Regions from separate parts of the Homo sapiens genome. Here all the other regions are linked to region 2. Evidence: promoter capture Hi-C in 16 types of primary human blood cells and fetal thymus (Javierre and others, 2016). All regions are on one chromosome and are shown on one strand. The core of a region is centred on a gene start or on the middle of the fragment in contact, and the rest is flanking DNA. Distances in the headings are between cores, read along the strand shown.

What was found. Contacts are between HindIII fragments. The CHiCAGO score rates a contact against its expected background, and 5 or more counts as called.
Region 1: a contact is called between the fragment with the promoter of KRABD3 here and the fragment with the promoter of REPIN1 in region 2, in 1 of 17 cell types (total B cells). The highest score is 5.5, in total B cells.
Region 3: a contact is called between the fragment with the promoter of ZNF467 here and the fragment with the promoter of REPIN1 in region 2, in 1 of 17 cell types (fetal thymus). The highest score is 6.2, in fetal thymus.

Annotation. Positions count from the first base shown.
Region 1 is chr7:149,712,509-149,716,469 of GRCh38, forward strand. KRABD3 (KRAB domain containing 3) reads left to right here and starts at 2,443. Exons shown (of 17, transcript NM_001290187.2): 1 at 2,443-2,558. The coding sequence starts at 2,547. RefSeq lists silencers at 970-1,264, 2,091-2,530 and enhancers at 1,596-2,095, 2,733-3,365. The HindIII fragment of the contact is 2,289 bases long and covers 1,559-3,847 here.
Region 2 is chr7:150,366,579-150,370,162 of GRCh38, forward strand. It overlaps REPIN1 (replication initiator 1), which reads left to right and starts at 2,244. Exons shown (of 3, transcript NM_001099695.2): 1 at 2,244-2,363; 2 at 3,093-3,290. The coding sequence starts at 3,134. The region is part of intron 3 of REPIN1-AS1 (REPIN1 antisense RNA 1); the gene reads right to left. RefSeq lists enhancers at 1,718-1,777, 1,817-2,621, 2,622-3,427, 3,428-3,584 and silencers at 2,028-2,497, 3,008-3,157. The HindIII fragment of the contact is 10,402 bases long and covers 1-3,584 here.
Region 3 is chr7:149,771,241-149,775,171 of GRCh38, forward strand. ZNF467 (zinc finger protein 467) reads right to left here and starts at 2,348. Exons shown (of 5, transcript NM_207336.3): 1 at 1,868-2,348. RefSeq lists silencers at 275-364, 375-694, 705-854, 1,791-1,970. The HindIII fragment of the contact is 21,836 bases long and covers 1-3,931 here.

The DNA.
Region 1 (3,961 bases), core at 1,193-3,692, 650 kb before region 2:
TGTGGTGTGATCTTGGCTCACTGCAACCCCCCTCTGCCTCCTGGGCTCAAGAGATTCTCCCACCTCAGCCTTCCAAGCAGCTGGGACTACAGGGGTACACCACTGCACCTGGCTAATTTTTGCATTTTTTGTAGAGATGGGGTTTCATCATGTTGCCTAGGCTGGTTTGGAACTCCCAGGCCCAAGCAATTCACCAGCCTTGGCCTCCCAAAGTGCTGGGATTACAGGTGTGAGCCACCGTGCCTGGCCCCAGCCAAGGAATTTTTAAAGATGTGTTTCAGCTCCACTCCTGCCTTTGTCTGTGTCCAGAGCCATCCAATAAACCTGGTTCAGGACAGGTCTTCACAACTATTTTTTAACGCACACACACGGGCTGAGGTAAATACAGGTCTACAGGGTCAAAGGCGCAACTAAAATTTGGGGGATAGGGGTGCCAGGAAGTGTCTCCATAATTTAAATAATTGGCCATGCAGCAAATTTCATGTTGGTGAACTGCTTTTAGCGACTGATGGTCCACAAATGGGGCAGGAAGCCTAGCCAGGAAGTGGACGTTTGAGTCAAAGAGGTGCCAAGAATCTGCACAGCTTAAAACAAAGGTGCATCTTACTTGGATAGAGATTTCTTTCTACAGGTGTTTAAGTTTAAGGCAGGGGTCCCCAGTCCCTGGGCTATGGACCAGTACCAGTCCTGGCCTGTTAGGAGCTGGGCAGTGCAGCAGGAGGTGAGCTGCGGGCAAGCCAGGGAAAGCTTTATCTGTAGTTACAGCCACTCCCCCTTGCTCGCATTACCCCTGAGCTCTGCCTCCTGTCAGATCTGCAGGTGCTGGATTCTCATAGGAGCCAGAACCCTGTTGTGAATGCGGGATCCAGGTTGCGGGCTCCTTAGGAGAATCTAATGCCTGGTGATCTGAGTTGGAACAGTTTCATCCCAAAACAACCCCCCTCCCAGTCCATGCAAAAATTCCCTTCCACAAAACCGGGCTCTGGCCCAAAAGGTTGGGGACCCCTGATTTAGGGGGTTTTAACGTTTAGGGATCCCGGGCCGGAGGGTGGGCGGTGGAGAGGAGCTGGGAGCAGGAACACATTACTGTAAGGAGCCCGCCTCACCTCGGCACGGAGGTGGGACCCGGCCTAAAGCCCAGGAGGCGACTTACCCTGAGGGCTGTGGCCTGTAGGGCTCTTGAAAAGTTGGACTTTTAAGTTTTCCCTTTCCGCGAGGTGGGGCCTTGTGATATCTTCAAATCCTTGTTCAGCAGGCTGCGCACACGCCGGTCCTGTGTCTAAGGTGTCTCGGGTATGACCGAGGGGGCTTTGCCCGAGTGGGCGTGCGCCTTTCCTCGGAGGCCGGGACGAGGGGTTGTCGGCATCGTACCCGAGTCCGTGATCATGGCCGGCGCGGCTGCAAGGGCCAGCCCCGGGCGACTGGGCGAGGAATTCCCTTTCCTTCCCTCCGATATTGCCCAGGCAGAGCGCTGTCTGGGCCGCAAGGTCTGGACGGGGCTTCCAAACTCAGAGCAGAGTCTCCTCTGCGTGGGACCACAGCCTCCCCTTCCCCTCCAAGCTTCTGTCTGGCACAGCAGGCTTAGCCCCGCAGGCCCCCTTCCAGCAGCCTTCTATAAAAATGACGGGGTCCTTCTCCAGACAGGAAAACCAGGCTCGCTGCGCCTCGCCCGCACCCCCGGAGCGCTCTCGCAGCGCCCGCCCAGACCAGGCCTTCGAACTCGTGAAGCGCAGGGGGAGGCAGAGGAGAGTGGGCCGCGCTTCCTTCCCGCATCACACGTTTATTTGAGGCCTACTATGTGCCAGGAACAACTGGGGTTACCACCCCAGCAAACAGGCACGCAAAATGTGACACGAAGGTAGGTCATGGCTGCGGCGAGCGGGGGCGCGGGCGAAAGACGTGAGGATGTACGGGGGCCTGGCAGCTGCTCTGTCCCACCCACGCCCGGCCGGACCCTCGACCCCTTTCACTCCAGGTCGGGTTTCCCCGACCGCGGCCTCTGGGAAAGATGGGTCCCTCTTCATCCCCACCATCAGCCCCTGGCACATGGGACGCGCTGAGTGGTGGCTGCGGGAATGAATGAGTGATAAGCGGCGCGTACCCGCGGGCTTGCACGCCCACAGCCGCCCCGGCTGGTCTCGGCGCGCAACCTCTACCCGCAGCTGGGGGCGGGGACGAGGGGAGGGGGCGGGGACGAGGCCCGAGCCAGGTCCGCCCCGCCCTGTCTCCGCCCCCCGCTTCCGAGCCGGCGCCGCGGCGCCTTCTGGGAAGTGTAGTCCGCGTCTGCGCCGGCCGGCCGGGCCGCCGAAGCCGGGGGCTCCGGGCGGAAACGGCACCACCCACCAAGGGATGCGAGGCGCTCGGGGCGGGCTCAACGAGGCCGGGGGCGGGCCCGGGCGCGCCCACCCCCGCCCCTCCCCCTCGGCCCAGGCCCCCGGCCCCGCCTTCTCCTGCGCGGACCTGGGCCGCCGCCGACGAGGGTCGCGTGCGCCCGCGCCAGGGCCCGCGCCGGAAACCGAGGAGTGGCGGGGAGGCTGAGCCCGGGGATGGCGCGCCAGGTAAGGCAGGCGGACGCGCGGACCCCTCGGCGCAGTGCGGCCCCGAAGGCGGTAGGGCGAGAAAGAGCTGGGACCCCCCCGCAACTTCGGGATCGGCTGGGTGAGGCTGGGCAGGCCTGATGCTCAGGGGTTCGTGCCGGGAAGTTCAGGTCCTCGGACAACCTCTCTCCAGCTCTCCGCCGCCGGTACCCACGGCCCAGTCTCCACCTGGGGAAACCCCCTTGGCGTGGCTTGTTTCGTTACAAGTTATCCTGGTAGAGTGGGCATGAAGGCCTCGGAGGCAGTGAGTAAATCTCATACTTCTGTTCTTGGTGGAATCCTGGATCCCGGGGGCTGGGGACGTGGAAATGGGGAGAAACAAAGATAGAACAAACCCCAAGTTTTGTCTTGGGAAGCCTGCAGGTAAGGCGTTTAGATCTGAGAACTGGAGGGAGAGCCCCAGGCCGTGACAGCCTGGGCACCGTTTGGGCTAGGTTGTGTGTGGGCTGTGACGATGCTGGGAAACTCTGGTGCTGATATCAGTGAGGTATCAGGTATCTGGTGCTGATACCAGCAACTGCTCCACGTTCTTCTGGATGGGCACCTGGAGCCAGTTCTGCAACCGTGGTGGCTCCTGAGCTTTGGCCAGTCCGAGGCAGCCATGGATGGGGGGCAGCGTGTGACTAGGCAGAGCAAACACTGTGCCAGGCCCTTGGCGTCATTAGTGCCCCCAAGCATTTGGGGAGAAGGGAGAGGCTAGGCAAATTGGATGTTGTTGGGCAGGGACAGTCAAGTGTCCTTTTCAGGTCTGGCTGCACAGTTAAGTAGCCTAGGGACACCCTGGTTCAGACATGCCCATGGCCCCATCCTAAGGCCTCCTCATACCACAGTTTCCTGTTCTGTAAAGTGAGGAGTTTGGGCCATTGACCTTTCAGATCTGATGAGGGGAATATCCTCACACTACGTAGCTTCATGGAGAAGGTGGCCAGGAGTGACCTTGGGGAGTGGTAGGTCACTGTAAGGTGGAGAGGAGCAGGGAGGGTTCCCAGAAGCCCAGGGCAATGTGAGCACAGCCTCCAGGTTGAGAGGTCCTGTGGCAGGGTCTGATCAGGGAGCCCGAGCCTGAGGCCCACTGGGAGAGCAGGTCTAGGTTGGGAAGGACTGTGAGAGAGGGGCAGGTCCAGCAGGCACTGAAGCTGCAGTTTTTGTGCTGGGCTAGTGACACGGTGGAAGGGTGATGTTAGGAGGACCAGTGTGCAGCTATGAGCTAGGAGGCTGCCCAGTTACAAGAGTCCTGGGTCAGCCCAGAAAGCTTTTCTCCATTGGTTGGGGGAAGGAGGTGAAGTGGGGCCCGAGGAGGAAGGCCGGTGGTGTGTGGGCAGAGCCAGCCAGTGGTGGCCTTCCTCCTCCCGAAGATGAGTTTT
Region 2 (3,584 bases), core at 994-3,493:
ACAAAACTTTCTCGCCGGGCACGGTGGCTCATGCCTGTAATCCCAGCACTTTGGGAGGCCAAGGCGGGCAGATCACGAGGTCAGGGGATCGAGACCATCCTGGCTAACACAGTGAAACCCCGTCTCTACTAAAAATACAAAAAAATAGCTGGGCGTGGTGGCGGGCACTTGTAGTCCCAGCTGCTCGGGAGGCTGAGGCAGGAGAATGGCGAGAACCTATGAGACGGAGCTTGCAGTGAACCGAGATCACACCTCCCTCTACACTCCAGCCTGGGAGACAAGCCAGACTCCATCTCAAAATAAATAAATAAATAAATAAATAAATAAATAAATAAATAATAAAATAAAAATAAAACAAAACTTTCTTATGCTCGCTTCAGCAGCACATAGACTAAAGCAAAACTTTCTCACATCAACAACTGAAAAGGTAGGCCGGATGCAGTGGTTCACATCTGTAATCCCAACACTTTGGGAGGCTGGGGCGGGAGGATCGTTTGAGACCAGCCTGGGCAACACAGTGAGACCCCATCTCTACAGAAGAAAAACATTAAAATAAAATAATTAGCTGGATGTGGTGATGTGATCCTGTAGTCCCAGCTACTCAGAGGCCGAGGTGGGAGGATTGCTTGAGCTCAGGAAGTCCTGGCTTCAGTGAGCCATGATAGTGCTACTGCACTCCAGCTCTGGTGACAGAGTGAAACCCTGTCTCAAAAAAAAAAAAAAAAAAAGTTAACAAGTACGAGGAAACACGTCTGCAACAAACATGACAAGTCTTTAATACCTGTACTTTATGAGTGCCCCCCAAACAATAAACCAACTCCCCAACTTTTAAAATGGGCAAATAGAAAAGTGGGCAAATGGACATAAACAAATTCACAAGAGAAAATAAAACTGGCAAAAAATAACCATGTGAAAAAACAATCCAGCTAACTAGTACTCTAAGAAATGCAAGTACAAAAGATGAGAAATAACCATTTCAAACTAAATTTTTTTTTTAAAAAAGTCTGTGTTGTCAAGTATATGGAAAATGGGCATTTCTCAGGGAAAACTAATACGTTTTCCTGGAAGATAATTTAGAAAACATTTAAAAAATATATTCCTTTTATACAGCCATAAATAATCATGTTTAAAAGAATATCTAATAAAATGGAAGAAAATTCACAAGATCGTGTTAAGTGAAGAAGGCAGAATACATCTTCGCAAGGCATTATTCCAATTATGCCAGACATGCCATGGATATACGTAGAGAAAACACCGGAGGCAACATACCAAAATATTAAATGTAATTGACTCTACGAGGTAAAACTGAGTTTTATGTTCCCCTATTTCCTATTTATGCAATAGATTTAAAAAGTATTTTTACGACTAATTATACAATTCAAAAATTGCCTGTGTTGAAAAGCATGAAAGTACATGAAATTGTACTACCCTGGAAACCCCAGGAAGTGTTTAGTTTGGAAAGCCAGGGCCACCTGCTAGTGGGTGAGTCATGGGCACAGGCTCGCACCTGCCACCGCAGACGCCACACAGGCTGCTGAGCCTTTCCAAGCGAAATGCCCCACGTGCGCCAACGGCCACCTCGGCCGTCGCCCCACGCTTGGCCCGCAGCCAGAGGAAGCCCAGCAACTTCTGCTCTTTCTTAATTTCTAGAAAAGAGTGAAGAGAGGCCTTTTCAAAGTTCGCAGGATCGGGCCTTTTTGTGCTCCACTTTGGAACAAATCGGAAGCTAGGGCCTTCCAGGTGCGCCACCGCCGTCCCGGGACCGCCGCGGCCGCAAGCGTCCGCACTGCGGCCGGGGTGCGCGGCCTGAGAAAGGCCCGGGCAACGACGCTCCGGGGGCTTGCCGGAGCCCTCTTTGAAGTCTCCCGACGGGCTCCCAGCCTCTCATAAGGCAGCTAAGGCCGAACACCCCGGTGACCATAGGCCAGCCACGCGGTCGCCCGGGGACGCGCGTGCTCCGCAGGGACAAAGGGTCGGGAAACTTGAGCTCCGGCCAGTCCCAGAGAAACCCGGGCTGGTGGTCGCCATGGCAACGGAGTCCGACCCTCCGAGGCCTGCCGCCCTGGCGCGGCAGTGGCTTGAGTGACCCGGCCCGCTCTTGGCGGGGGCGCCCGCGCCCCGGCCCCGGCAGTCCCTCCCCGCCCCCAGGCCGCGGCCGCGGGAGCCGGCGACTGACCCTCGGCAGCTCCTGTAGTCACGTGGCGCTGGGAACCCGGCGGGGGGAGGTTGGGGACGGGCCTGGCAGTTGTGAACTCGAACCTGCCGCTGTCGCCGCGGCGGGGCGGGGAGCGAGAGTGGGCCGCGGAGGCCGGCCTTCGGGCTCCATGGACGGGCGCCGCGTCCCTGCACAGCCCGCCGCAGAGGTACGGCCGGGGCAGGGGCGCGGGGCCACCGCGGGCCCGCGGGGGGCCGCTCCACCTGCGGGGCGCGTGACCGTGAGTGTGCGCGACCGTGTGTGAGTGCGCGGGGGGGGACGCTGCTGGATCTGCGGGGGTGGGGGAGCGCACCTGCGCACAGGCTCCGCGAGCTGCGCCGTGCGTGGGACCCGAAATGGCTCACTCGCAAGAACGGGACCCGTGTGCCCGGGAGCGTGGACGGAGGACACGCATCAGTACAAAAGGGCGGTGTGGGGCTTCTGCCACCCGCGGCCAGCCGCGATGCGGAAGGGGATTCTGACGGAGTCGTGGTCACACCAGCTGGCCCTGCGCAGCCCCATGGGAAATAGGCCTGGAATTCCTGTCGGGAGGAGGCTGGGGGAAGGGGAGCCAGCAGGGATTCCAGAGTTCCTGCCATAGGCCGGCCTTTGGCCATCAGGGAAAGCCCAGACTCTGGCCACAGAATGGAGAATTCGTTCCGTGACCTTACCAGGGAAGAAAGTGACCCCGAAAGACAGCAGTGTGCTTCCTTGTTGAAGGGGCACATTCATTTATTAATCCAATGTCCATTAAGGTCACTCTGCCAGGCAGGATGTGGGGCTTATGGCTGGTGCGTGTGGCTTTGTGGGGGGAGGGGTTGTGGCTGGTGAGGACACAAAGCTGACTGCCCTAGAGGAGCTCAGAGCCTCACTTCTGTTTTCTCTTCCCTCCCCACAGGTAAGGCTGGCCTCTCTGCAGTCAGAGGTCTGAGCTCTGCCATGGGGATAGGGGTGTCTTTATTACTGCAGTTTTCTCTAACACCTGGGGGCTACCGGAGTGTGGGCCGAAGCAGGCGCTGCAGCCGCGGAAGTATCCCCAGGAACATCCCCAAGAGGAGCTGGAAAAAGCCTCATCCCCAGCTCTGCAGTCTCCAGGGTAGAGTCTGGCCTTTGCTGTGCTCCCAAACCACGCCACAACAGGGGTGCACGGGCGTCCCCATCCCGGCGGAAGGAAATGGCCCTTTCTCATATCCTGGGGTCTTCCCTGTGCACAGTCTGACACTGGGAATGAGTGACCTTTGTGTTCCCTGAGAAGAGAGAGTGCGCTCTAGGGAATTTAGAAGGATGTGTCTGGAGCTTGTGAGCAGGCACAGAAGGGCCCTTAGGAGCCTAACTGCTTCCTTCCTCCTTCCGCGGAGGAGGCTCCTGTGCAGGAATCTGGGCTCCCCTG
Region 3 (3,931 bases), core at 1,098-3,597, 600 kb before region 2:
GAGATCTTTGAAGGTGGCCCAAGAAGGCCTTGAAACGATTTCTGTCAGCTCTGGAAACCAGCCGCGCCACCCCCTCACCTGGCAGGTCTGTCACCGCCAACCCCGGCCCATCAGCACCGCAACTCCACGCCCCAGCGTCCTTGCCTGGGAAAGTGCAGGCAAGATTCGATTCTCTGGGGAGAGGCTTGAGGGTGGGAGCCCAGGGTGGGGAGTGGGAAACTTCATCTCCCAGGTCCTCCAGCTGTCACTGCCCGAGCTGGTGAAATAGGAGCCAGCCCAGGGGCGGGAGTGAGTGTCACTTTAGGGGTACTGCTTGGGGAGGTCCTCGAGAGGATCCTCTTGTAGCTAGAAAATGATCGCCTCTTCCTAAACCCCTACCACAAAACCACCTCTCACCCGTGCCGGGCTGCCCAAGGCCCGGACACCGCCCCTGCTGCCCCTTCCCTGCTCCGCCTTCCGCGGCTCCCCCGCCCCTCCCCCAGCAGACTCCCCTCCCCCATCTCCCCGGCAGCCTTCCCTCTGCCCCGCCCCTCCCGCTCCCTCTGCCTTCCGCCCTCTCTCCCCTGCGAATCGGGCCGGCGCCTCGGCTCCGCCCCCGGCCCCGCCCCTCAGGCTCCGCCCGCCCGAGCCCGGCAGGGCCAACCCCTCGAGGCCCCGTCCGGGTCGGCCCTCCGCTGCCACCGCCTCCCCTGACCCTACGCTCCGGGCCGCCTCGGCGGCAGCGCTCCCCTCCCCCTCTCAGACTCCAGGCTGCCTTTCCCTACCCTCCCGGTTCTCCCCCGCTCCATCTCCCTCCCCGGCTGCACACCCTCTCCCTTCCTTTCCCCCTCCTCTTTTCCTTCCTCGCCAACCCCCGCCCTCCTCCTCTCAGCTCTTTTCCCCAACCCAGTTCTCCTCTCCCCTCCCTCCTCTCCTCCCCCACCCCGGTTTCCCTTCCTTCTCCTTTCCTCGCCTCACCTCGGTTCCCTTCCCCTCCCCCTTTCCAGCCCTCCCCCACGTCTCCCCACCGCCCTCCCCCTCCCCCCTCCCTTCTGCAGCTCTCCTTCCCCTCCGAGGCCCCCGCCTCCCTTCCCCCTCTGTCTCCCCAGCAGGCTCCAGCTTCGCTTCCCTCCCCGTCCCCAGTCCCCAGAACCGCTCTTCCCCTCCCCCCTCCCAGGCTGCTTCCCAGCTCCCGGGTCCTCCGGCCCCCAAGCCTGGGGGTCTAGGGCTGACCCGCTCTCTCGGGACCTTCCCGCGGGCCCTGCCCTCCCCACTCCGTCTCCCCTCCGAACACCCCTCCGCGCCTCTCTTCTCCGCCGCGGCGCCCCCTCCCTATTTCTGCTCCCCTCGGACTTCTCACCCCTCCCAAGTTTTCCTCCCGACGGGACCCTCAGCTCCACCTCCCTGCCCCGCCGCCCTCCCAAGCAGCTCCGATCGCCGACTTCATTCCAGGTCCCGGCCCCCTCCCCAGCTCCGGGGCTCACCTGTCAGCGCCCTCCTCTCCCGCCCCTACCGAGTGGCCCGGTCCCCAGCGCCCGCTTCTTCCTCCCCTTCCCCCTCGGCCCCCTCCCACACTCCCTCTCTCCTCCCCTCGGGGCCCGTCGTCCCCCTTCCCACCTGCCTCCCGCCCGACCCCCTCCCAGCCCCCGCCCTTCCCTCCAGCCCCCCCGGTCTCCTCTACCCCCACAGCCCTCACCCTGCCCGCGCCGGCCTTGCCCTCCCTTCCCCCCAGCCCCCGACCTCCCCGGACCCGCGCCCCTCCCCCACGCCCGCCGTCCGCGCCCCTACCCCCGGGGCTGTCACCTGCGCGGAGCCGGCCGTGACCCAACCGCGGCGCTGAGGGAGACGCGGGCGGGGCCGCCTGCAGAGGAGCCTCCCCGGCCCTTACCTGGCTGGCCGGCCGCTCCGCCCGCGCCGCGGGGACCCAGGCGCCCGGGCCTCCTGCCCCGCCGGCTCTGCTCACAATGGCGCTCGCCGCCTGCAGCTCGGGTGCTGACGGCCTGAAAGACTGACAGACTGACAGCCCCGAAACTTCGCGGGGAGGAGAGGGATAGACGCGCGGGGAGTCGAAGCCGGGAAACGGCGCCTGCAAGGGAGGAGGGACCGAGGGAGCGGGCGGAGAGCCCCGGCGCACCGGGCTGGGGGAGGCAGGGGCAGGGGGTTTCAGGAGTGGGGTCCCAGGAGGGAGCACCGTGGGCTTAGGTGGGCAGGTGATGGTCCTAAGGCTCCGAGCCTGGAGTAGGTGTGGAAGTGGGAGCTCAGGACGGGGGAGGGGAGGGGAGGGGAGGGGAGGGTGATGGGAGAGGGGGTGGAGGAGGGCGAGGAGGCTGGGGAGGACAGGCACTCGGGCTGCGGGGAAGGGTGCCAAGGGAGGGTGCTCGCGGCCGCGGAGGGAGGAGCCGGGGAAAGGTGGAGCGCGAACGGGTGGGGGGGTGGCGGGGAGGAGTTGGGGGAACGAGGAGGGGCCGTGTCGGGGGGGAGCCAGCGAGTCGTGCGCTGCCGTCTCTAAGTCGCCGGTGCCAGCCGGGTGTGCAGCGCCGCGCTCCCGCGGGAGGACGGCCCGGGGGGTCGGTCTGGGAAACTCCGGCCCCGCCCCCATTCTCCACCCGGATTCCACCCCGATCCACCCAGACCCGCAGCCCCTCGCCTGGAGTCCCGAGGACCCGATTCGAAACCAGCCGCGGGAGCCGTGGGGGCAGGCGGGAGAGAGGGCTGGGCCCCTGTGCTTGCGAGAACGGGTCCTTCGAAGTAGAAACTGGGGAGAGGACTTTAAGCCAGGTCCCCTGGGAGAAGGCCGGGCCAGGTCGGGAGCTCCAGGGGGCAAGGCTGGGACGGGGCTGGGCGGAGATTCTGAGGGCGGGGTCCGGGGGAGGGTCTGGGAGGGGGCTGCAGAGAGGGGAGGGCTCTATGGGCGGGAGACGATTGCTGGGGGGCCTGCTGGCCCGGACACCACCTGGAGTTAGATGTGGAGGGCAGCCCTCAGCCCTCAGCCCTCAGCCCCAGCTCCTCAGGGGACTCCACTCGCCCTCCCTGCCCAGGTTACGAGGTTTCTCCTTGGCCTTGTTCCCGCTGCGCCCACTCCTGAAAGCTCCGGAGATGCTGAAGTCTGGACTGTTAGTTCCCGGTCTCCTCTCCATGAACTTTCTCCAAACCCCTGGGTTCCAGCTTCCTCCCTTCTGCCCCTTTACGGGAAAGGGTGACTGCAACTCGGGTCTCTTCCCAATCCCAGTGCTGCCTGATCAGCCCCGGTTTGAATCCAGAGCTGAGTGAGGCTGGGAAGGGGAGGGTGTGAATGGCCCTTGAGCTCCTGCTACCACAGCCCACCACAAGGATGAGTGCCTGGAAGAGCGCCCATCACTCGGGCTCAGCTGTGAAGGCTCCTCTGCCTCCAGGATGAAGGGAGCACCTGGAGTAGCATGTGTCACTGTGCGTGCTGGGGTGTGGCCGAGCACCTGTGCCGGTGTTGTGAGACTTACAGTGAGAGTGTGCATGTGTGTAAAACAGGAAAGGGGGGTGTCTGGGTGTGCGTGTGGCTCTTTCTGAGGACTCCAGAGCAGGAGTTGATCCCAGTCATCCGTGACCCCCTGAGAGACTCACTCTGGGCCCTTTTTTGGCCCTGGGACCAATGGTGAACCCAGGAGAAGGAGAGCCCGGCCCAGCTCTGGTTAACAGCAGCCCCCTTCCTCCCCTAGGTGGAATGACTCTACAGGATACTCGGAGGGATATCAGGTTTAGGAGACCGAGGGGTGTGGAGTCGGAGCCAGGCTGCATTCCAGCCCGGGTGTCCGGGTGTGCTCAGAGCTCTGCTGGGACCAGGGTGGACCCCGGATTCCCCTGTGGAGCCTGTCACTGCCCCTCCCAGCCGGATTCTCGGATTATTTCATCCGGCTTAGCTCTGCCCCAGGGCTGGGGGAGCTGGCTCCCCCGCCCACTCCTTCCAGAGGGTCCTCTC